Regions from separate parts of the Homo sapiens genome. Here region 1 is linked to region 2. The links are contacts of gene promoters, found by promoter capture Hi-C in human tissues and cell types (Jung and others, 2019). All regions are on one chromosome and are shown on one strand. The core of a region is centred on a gene start or on the middle of the fragment in contact, and the rest is flanking DNA. Distances in the headings are between cores, read along the strand shown. Region 1 holds the start of ARHGAP39 (Rho GTPase activating protein 39). Region 2 holds the start of TONSL (tonsoku like, DNA repair protein).

Region 1 (4,323 bases), core at 376-2,875, 240 kb after region 2:
CTACAGAGCCTGCGCCCAGGGCGGTTTATGGAATGAGTCTCCTCGATTTACAGCCACACCTCCTATCAAATCGCCTTTCCCTCCCCCGGCGCGAGAATCGCACCTTGCTCCTTGTGGATCGGGCGCCGCCGACGGAACCACCTGCTGTCTATAGAGGGCACCTAGGACGCAGCGTCCAATTCCCCTCACTGGCTTCAAAAGACAAATCTCCGTATTGTTGTACCAGGAGGCACGAGAAGCCTCACCACTGTAGGTTTTTCAGCAGAGGTCACTGGAGGTCTGGTTAAACCCGTACAGCACTGAGGGGGAGGGGGCCCGGCTGCGTTTCCGAAGCTGCGCAGCGCCCACAGCAGCTGCTGGTGGGAAGCGGCTCGGAACACACCCACAGCTGCCAAGGAGCCGGCTGCACGTTTTAAAATAAAAAACGTCCTGGGCCCCAAAATGCACAGCCCGCCTCTCTCGCCGCCCTGGGCACGGAACGCCGCCTCCACCCACAGCACTCCAGCAACTGGGAAGCAACCGGGAAGCAACCGAGGGAATTCCAGCTCGGGGGGCAACCGGGAGGGGAAGGCTCCGAGCGCCGGAGCCCCAGCCCGCGCCTGCCGCAGAGGCGAGGCCGCAGAGCCCACCCGCAGGCGGCCATGACCCCACCTGGAGACGCCCATGTCCGCTCCCTGCGCCCCGGGGACAAAGCCCGAGGCTGCACCGCAGCGCACCGCAGCCCTGCACCCGGGCCGCCCTTCAGGACGCGGGCACCAGACCCGACCGGCGGGCATCCACCTTGTCCCCACTCCGACGGCGCCCGGGAATGCGGCCGGTGCCCCGAGCTCAGGCTGGGCACACGTGCACCCACACCCACCACGGGCGGGGTCCCCTCACACCCCCCTCGGGCAGGGGCACACTCACACCCATCTAGGGCCGGGCACACTCACACCTCCCTCGGGCAGGAGCACACTCACACCCCCCTGGGGCCGGACACACCCACACTCCCCTCGGGCCGGGCACACTCATACCCACCGTGGACAGGGGCACACTCACACTCACTCTGGACAGGGGCACACCCACACCCACATTGGGGCCGGGCACACTCACACCCACCTAGGGCAGGGACACAACTCACTCTGGACAGGGTACAGTCACACCCACTTCGGGCCGGGCACACGCGAACTCACCCACCCTCACACTCCCAGCCCGGCCCGTCGGCGCGCACCCGGGCCCCGCGCGGCCTCGGCCCCTCGAGCCTCCGCGCCCCCCGCCCGGCCGGGCCCCGCACACCCACGCCCCCTCCCTCCACGGCCCAGTCACAGCCCCTCCCGCCGCTGCAGTCGCCGCGGGCCTGGATTCCTTGCGCTGCCGGGCCTGGAGCCTCCGCCGAGGCTGGGCCAGGACCACGGGGACCGCAGCGCCGGCCCCTCCGCCATCTTCTTGGCCCGCGCCGCCCACCGCCCGTTGCCCGCGCTCTCACCGGCCGGCTGCGCGCGGGCCGCGCCGCCACAGTCCCTCATCCCGGCCCGCGCGACGCGCGTGAGCCAGCCGCCGCTCCCCGGCCTCTCTGCTGCTCCGCCGCTGCTGCCGCGGCAGCCCGTGCTGTCGGCGTCCTCCGCCGCCGCCGCCGGCCCAGTGCGCGGCGGCCGCGCGTCCTCCCGTCACCAAGCGCAACCCCCCGCCTCCGGCTCCGCCCCCGCGGCGGTCACTACCCGCCGCCAGGGGGCACTGCCTCGCGAGGCCGCATCACGCATGCGCTGGCGCGCGGCATGCCGGGAGCCGGAGTCCCGCGGAGGGCGCGCGCGGCATGCTGGGAGCCGCCTGGCCCCGCCCCGTCGCCGCGCCAGAGGCCTCCCGCGCGGACCTACCCTGTGAGTTAGCGGTGTCTTCCCGTCTCTTTCGGTGCAGAGCAGTTACCATCTGACACGTCTCGGTGTGGTTTGGTGTAATTTTGCCCTCTCAAACCACGTTGGGCTTCCCGAGTCTGAGATTTCACTTTTCTTCGACTCTAGAAATACAGCCATTCTTCTCAAAACGTGGGCTGCCCTGTTCCTCAGTCCTTCTTGTGGCGGGCTCGTGTCTCTTCACCTCCTGTTATTCTCACCTTTTTAGTCCTGTCACTTTTACTCGGTAATTCACTCAGCTGCAGCTCGACTAGTGCTCTATTCGGCGTTTTCTAATCTGCGTTCAGCCTGGTTTTCTAGATTCTCTTAGTGCCAGGTGCGTTTCTGGAAATTGAATCTGACTGGCATTTCTGGAGAAACGGAGGCTAAACAGCCTGAAGCTTCGATAGTAGAAGACAGGGGCGCACACCCTTCAGTCCTGGACATTCCCTGGGTCCTCAACTGTGAGAAGCCGCAAAGGGCTGAAAGGCCCCCGTCAAAAGTCATCCGTGGAGCTCCACCTCCTGCCCTGCAGCTCAGTCGCCTTGCAGGGACTCTCCCGCCTCAGGAGATCTCCCGTCGGGCTGTCTCGCCGCCCGCGCTTCCCTGTTGGGCCGTCGTCACACTTCACTCTTCACTCTTATACACAGGGCTCTGCTTTTTCGCCTCCCGCTCCCTCTCCACTGTATTCACTTAGAAAACCCAACTGGGCGAGCCCAACCCTTCTCCTCCATGACTGCTGAAGAAAATCACACATCCAGGCTGACTGCCTTCACCTTAAACTTGTGACAACACACTGGCGGCGAGCACTTCCCACCCCCGTGACCACACACTGGCGGCGACCATTTCCCACCCCTGTGACCACGCACTGGCGGCGAGCACTTCCCACCCCCGTGACCACACACTGGCGGCGACCATTTCCCACCCCCGTGACCACGCACTGGCGGCGAGCACTTCCCACCCCCGTGACCACGCACTGGCGGCGAGCACTTCCCACCCCGTGACCACACACTGGCGGCGACCATTTCCCACCCCCGTGACCACGCACTGGCGGCGAGCATTTCCCACCCCCGTGACCACACACTGGCGGCGAGCACTTCCCACCCCCGTGACCACACACTGGCGGCGACCATTTCCCACCCCCGTGACCACACACTGGCGGTGAGCACTTCCCACCCCGTGACCACGCACTGGCGGCGAGCACTTCCCACCCCGTGACCACGCACTGGCGGCGAGCACTTCCCACCCCTGTGACCACGCACTGGCGGCGAGCATTTCCCACCCCTGTGACCACGCACTGGCGGCGAGCACTTCCCACCCCGTGACCACACACTGGCGGTGAGCATTTCCCACCCCGTGACCACACACTGGCGGTGAGCACTTCCCACCCCTGTGACCACACACTGGCGGTGAGCACTTCCCACCCCGTGACCACACACTGGCGGTGAGCACTTCCCACCCCGTGACCACACACTGGCGGTGAGCAGTTCCCACCCCGTGACCACACACTGGCGGTGAGCACTTCCCACCCCGTGACCACACACTGGCGGTGAGCACTTCCCACCCCCGTGACCACACACTAGCAGTGAGCACTTCCCACCCCGTGACCACACACTAGCGGTGAGCACTTCCCACCCCGTGACCACACATTTACAGTGAGCACTTCCCACCCCTGTGACCACACACTGGCGGTGAGCACTTCCCACCCCGTGACCACACACTGGCGGTGAGCACTTCCCACCCCCGTGACCACACACTAGCAGTGAGCACTTCCCACCCCGTGACCACACATTTACAGTGAACACTTCCCACCCCGTGACCACACACTGGCGGTGAGCACTTCCCACCCCGTGACCACACATTTACAGTGAGCACTTCCCAACCCCGTGACCACATACTAGCGGTGAGCACTTCCCACCCCCATGACCACACATTTACAGTGAGCATTTCCCACCCTGGTGACCACACACTTAACTAATTAAAAATATACAAAATATTTATAGAGGACATTTAACTCTTTTTTTTTTTTTTTTGAGATGGAGTCTTGCTGTGTCACCTAGGCTGGAGTACAGTGGCGCCATCTTGGCTCATTGCAACCTCTGCCTTCTGGGTTCAAGCAATTCTCCTGCCTCAACCTCTTGAGTAGTTGGGATTACAGGTGCCCACCACAACTCCTGGCTAATTTTTTGTATTTTTAGTAGAAATAGGGTTTCACCGTGTTGGCCAGGCTCCTCTCAAACTCCTGACCTCAAGTGATTCACCCACCTCAGCCTCCCAAAGTGTTGGGATTACAGGCGTGAGCCACCACACCTGGCCAAGGACACTTAACTCTTTAAGGACTTAAAAAGAAAATCTAAAGTCCCCACTAATGGAGGGGGACCTGTGTGGTGGCTCACAGCTGTAATCCCATCGTTTTTCCAGGCTAAGGTGGAGGAACGCTTGAGATCAGGAATTC
Region 2 (4,213 bases), core at 1,669-4,168:
GCGAAGCTTGCAGTGAGCCGAGATCATGCCACTGCACTCCAGCCTGGGTGACAGAGCGAGACTCCGTCTCAAGAAAAAAAAACAACACAACATGGATGGTGCCTGGCTCAAAGTAAGGGCTGACGGCTGCCAACCTCCAATGGTGGTCTCTGCCATCAGCACTCCTGGACCACGCGTGCCATCTCCTCTCCCACCCTGGGAGGCTAGGGGTACAACTACTGTCTCCAGTTTGCCAATGAAGATGGTGGCTGCGAAATAAAAGCCCAGCTGGTCTCCTGGCCGCCCTTTCATTGCCCCTGACACACTGTGTTGAGCTCAGAGAAAAAAGGGGGTCTTCTCCTGTCAGGAAGTAGGGGTACCTGCCCCTCTTGCTGAAGCTGCTGCCTCCAAGGACAGGTGCTCAGGCCTCCTCTGTGAGGGAGAGAGCCCTGTACACACCTGGCGGGACTCCACCCCGCCCCCAGGCTCACCCCTGCACACACCTCCCAGGGCCCCATTCGCACCCCCAGGCTCACCATGCTGGAGGTTCTGACAGATGGCTGCCCTCTGCACAGGCTTCTGGGAGCCCAGCCTGTAGGCCTTCTTCAGGGCTCGCTTGGCAGCCAAAAAGTCTCCCAGGTCTTGGAGGACCTGGAGAGCAAAGGACAGCAAAGGTTTTGCAGAATCCCCAAGGCCCGAATCTACGAGAGCCTGAGCTCGGAGCCACGCACAGCGGGTACCTGTGCAATAACCACGCAGCACTCGCTCTCCATGAACCGCTTCCTCATGGTGTGCGCACACTCCCGGGCACCCTCCAAGCAGCGCATAGCCTGGGAGTGCTGGCCCGCGCGCCAGTGGATGGTGCCCAGGTTGTAGCGGGCGCGGAATAGGTCCTCGTAAAGGTGGTTCTGCCTGCAGAGGGGTGACGACCACTGAGCACCCAGGAGTGTCCATGACAGCTGCTGATGCCACACGGGCCCCAGCCCTGCCATGCTGTGGTCTCAGGGCCCTAACCATGCCTGGCCTTCTCCCAGTGTGTGGCACAGGTGTGAGAGGTGGGGGGATGAGGCCCAGCCAGACTGCTCTCTCAGGAGGACTCTGGGAAAAATACTCCCCTAACTACTTCCTCCAGGAACAAGGGACTCCACTCCCTCCTGGGGCGGGGCAGGGCCTTACTCCGCAAGGAAGATGCTCTTCCTGAAGTAATCGTTGCACAGGGCTGTCTGCTGCAGGCTCTCAAAGGTGAGGCCCAGGTTGAGATAGAGGCGGGTCCTCATCTCATTCAGCTCTCCCTGGGCCAGTGTCCCTGGAAGATACCCCCCCAAACACTCAGCCACTTCCTCCCCACATGGGGTTTCCAGCTTTGGGCCCCATTTGGGGCCTGTGCAGCGCCTCTCCTACCCCCTCCCTCCTCCCGAGGTGGGTGCAAGTGTCCTGCGGCAGATGGAGCACAGAGTGGATAAAGAGCTGACGATCTCCAGGGGAAAGGTTGAGCGGGGCATGCACCCCTCACACAAGAGCCTTGCAAAGGGAGGGCTCCAGAAGACGGGATTGCCCAAGGAGGCTGCGGGGGTGCTGGGCTGCAGCCTCTTCGGCCCGAAGTTCAGGAGGCAGAAAACGCGGAGGGGTCTGCCCACCCTCCAGCTCCTCATCCACAATAGCCAAGCTCTTCTCAAAGGCAGCCTGTGCCTGCAGCAAAGCATCCCTCGACTGGCAGTGGTCATAGATGTCCAGGTGGGTGCGGCCGATGGTGGCCCAGGCCCTCTGCAGCTCCGTGTGGTTGCGCAGGGAATGTGCCAGCTCCAGGTACTGGTGCTGGTGCTGAGTGTGGAAGGAAGTCACTGCTGTGAGCCGACTCCGCCTCAAGCAAACCGGCACCGCCAGATTCCCAGAGACCCTGTTCTTGCTAAGGAAAGAGCCTGCTCCCCCTAACCCCCACAGAGCAGGCCAAGGCCAGACACGTGCCCCTCCTCTGCATGCCAAGGGCTCTCTGTGGTGACAGTGGCTTCACGCTGTATGCAGCCAACGCTGTCACGTGGGGAGGGGCAGCTGGGAGTTGGCGGGGGGGTTGCAGTCCTGCCTCCAGCAGCCAGGGTCAGGGAGAGCTTTTGGGATGGGGCCTGACCTCCCCCAACACAAACACAGCTAAAATAACGTTCAGTAATGGTTTCTGGTGCCAGGAAACCTACTCCTGCCCCAGTCCCAGGAAAGGCTGTGGGGTCCCCACCGGAGGACTGGCCCGGGGCGGTGAAGGCAAGGCTGCGTCAGGTCAGGTGTCCCCTCCAGCCCGAGGCTCCTGACGGCGAAGACCAGGCCTCCCTCCTCAGAAAAGGGCTCCAGAGGCCGACCGGGCTGGACGAGGCCAGTGAGGGCGCCCGCACCTGCAAGGCAGCCGGGTAGTCCTCCATCTCGGCCAGGCGCTCTCCGATCTTGCGGTGGGCCACGGCACAGCCCAGAGGGTCGTCAGCGCGCTCCCGAAGCTGCAGCTCCTGCCAGTGCTGCTCCAGAGCCTCGGCGTAGCGGCCTAGGCGGGGGCACAGCACGGCCTGGCAGGCGTCGCGGGTGCGAGGGCGGCCCTGGGGCGGCGTCTGCCGGAAGAGCCCGTCGCCCCCCGGCCCCCGATCCCGGCCCGGGCCCGGGCCCCGGCCCTGCCTCCCGCCTCCTGGTCCCGGCGCTCACCATGGCCGGCCAGGAGCTCCCCCAGCTGGTGGCACAGCGCGGCCTCTTCGCGCCGCTGCCCGGCCCTCTGCGCCTTGGCTTTCGCCTTGCTCAGCTCTGTGGGAGGAAGAGGAGGGCTGGGCCTCCGCGGCGGGGTCCGGGGCCGGGGCCGAGTCCCAAGCCCTCCCCAGCCTCCGCGCCCCCGGAGGAAGGGGTCCCCGAGGAACTTACGGCGAAGCTCGCGCTCCAGGCTCATGCTCGGATCGCCGCGGGATCCGGACTTCCCGCGCTGCGCCGCGGCCCCGCCCCTCGCCGCCGACACGCAGGCCCCGCCCCTCGCCGCCGACACGCAGGCCCCGCCCCTCGCCGCCGACACGCAGGCCCCGCCCCTCGCCGCCGACACGCAGGCCCCGCCCCTCGACGGCGGCGGCGGGCGCGGGGCATTCCGGGAAGTACGGTCGGCCCGCCCGCGGCATCCTCGGAGTTCTCGTGCGGGAGGAGCTGGGGCGGGGTGGCGGCGACAACTGGGGCGTCCCACCCTAGGGGCCGTCTTCCCGGACGCCGGGTTGGCCCGCGCGTGGAGCCCTCTGCCCGGCCCGGGGAGTGCCTGGTGGGGACCCCGTTCCTCCTCGTAGGCGGCGGGGACGCGGGAGGCCGGGGGCCCGGAGCCAGCCCGTCCGGGGTCGCAGCGCGCCCTGGGTGGGGTCTTCTGGGCTGCAGCCCCCGTGCCGCCCGCGCTACTCATGGTGGACGAGCTGTGCCGCCGCCCCAATTCCTCCCGAAATTCACACACACAGCCTGCTCACAGGCGCAACTATTAAAAACGAACGTAGTGTCCAGATAGACTGACGATAAATTCACGAGCATTTGGCTGTGGGGACGTAATAAGGTGTCAGGCGCGCTCCTCCTCCGCAGAACGCAGCTGGGTCACATTTGGGGACTCGGCCCCAAGGACTGTTTTGGGAGGGGAATGTGCTTTCCATAGTGAACAAGTATTGTTTCAGCAATGTGTATGCCAGCTGTATTCTCGGAAGAGTCAGTGAACCTGTGCTTCAGCTGCAGAAGTAGCCCGGGCACAGTGGCCCGCACTGTAATCCGAGCGCTATGGGAGGCCCGGTCAGGAGGATCGCTTGAGCCTAGCAGTACGAGACCAGCCTGGGCAACATAGTGAGGCCCCATCTTTCGTGTGTGTGTGTGTGTGAGACGGAGTCTCGTTCTGTCACCCAGGCTGGCGTGCAATGGTGTGATCTCGGCTCACCACAACCTCCGCCTCCCGAGTTCAAGCGATTTTCCTGCCTCAGCCTTCCAAGTAGCTGGGACTACAGGCGCGTGCCAGCATGCCCGGCTAATTTTTGCATTTTAGTAGAGACGGGGTTTCACCATGCTGGCCAGGCTGGTTTCAAACTCCTGACCTTGTGATCCGCCCACCTCGGCCTCCCAAAGTGCCGGTATTACAGGTGTAAGCCACCATGCCCAGCCCGATACCCCATCTTTATTTAAAAAAAAGAAAGGGAGGGAGGGAGGAAAAGAAAGAAAGGAAGAAAGAGAGGGCCGGGCGCAATGGCTCACCCCTGTA

Evidence for each region. Contacts are between HindIII fragments. The study calls those that stand out against the background at their distance.
Region 1: the fragment with the promoter of ARHGAP39 here is called in contact with the fragment with the promoter of TONSL in region 2 in 3 of the 25 tissues and cell types used here (dorsolateral prefrontal cortex, heart right ventricle and mesenchymal stem cells).

What each region holds. Positions count from the first base shown.
Region 1 is chr8:144,684,221-144,688,543 of GRCh38, forward strand. ARHGAP39 (Rho GTPase activating protein 39) reads right to left here and starts at 1,626. Exons shown (of 12, transcript NM_025251.3): 1 at 1,466-1,626. RefSeq lists enhancers at 1-105, 106-718, 1,332-1,943, 3,130-4,002. The HindIII fragment of the contact is 13,771 bases long and covers 1-4,323 here.
Region 2 is chr8:144,441,522-144,445,734 of GRCh38, forward strand. TONSL (tonsoku like, DNA repair protein) reads right to left here and starts at 2,919. Exons shown (of 26, transcript NM_013432.5): 1 at 2,869-2,919; 2 at 2,659-2,754; 3 at 2,361-2,503; 4 at 1,617-1,800; 5 at 1,156-1,285; 6 at 720-891; 7 at 516-630. The coding sequence starts at 2,893. RefSeq lists an enhancer at 1,811-2,319 and silencers at 2,565-3,334, 3,375-3,514. The HindIII fragment of the contact is 9,197 bases long and covers 1-4,213 here.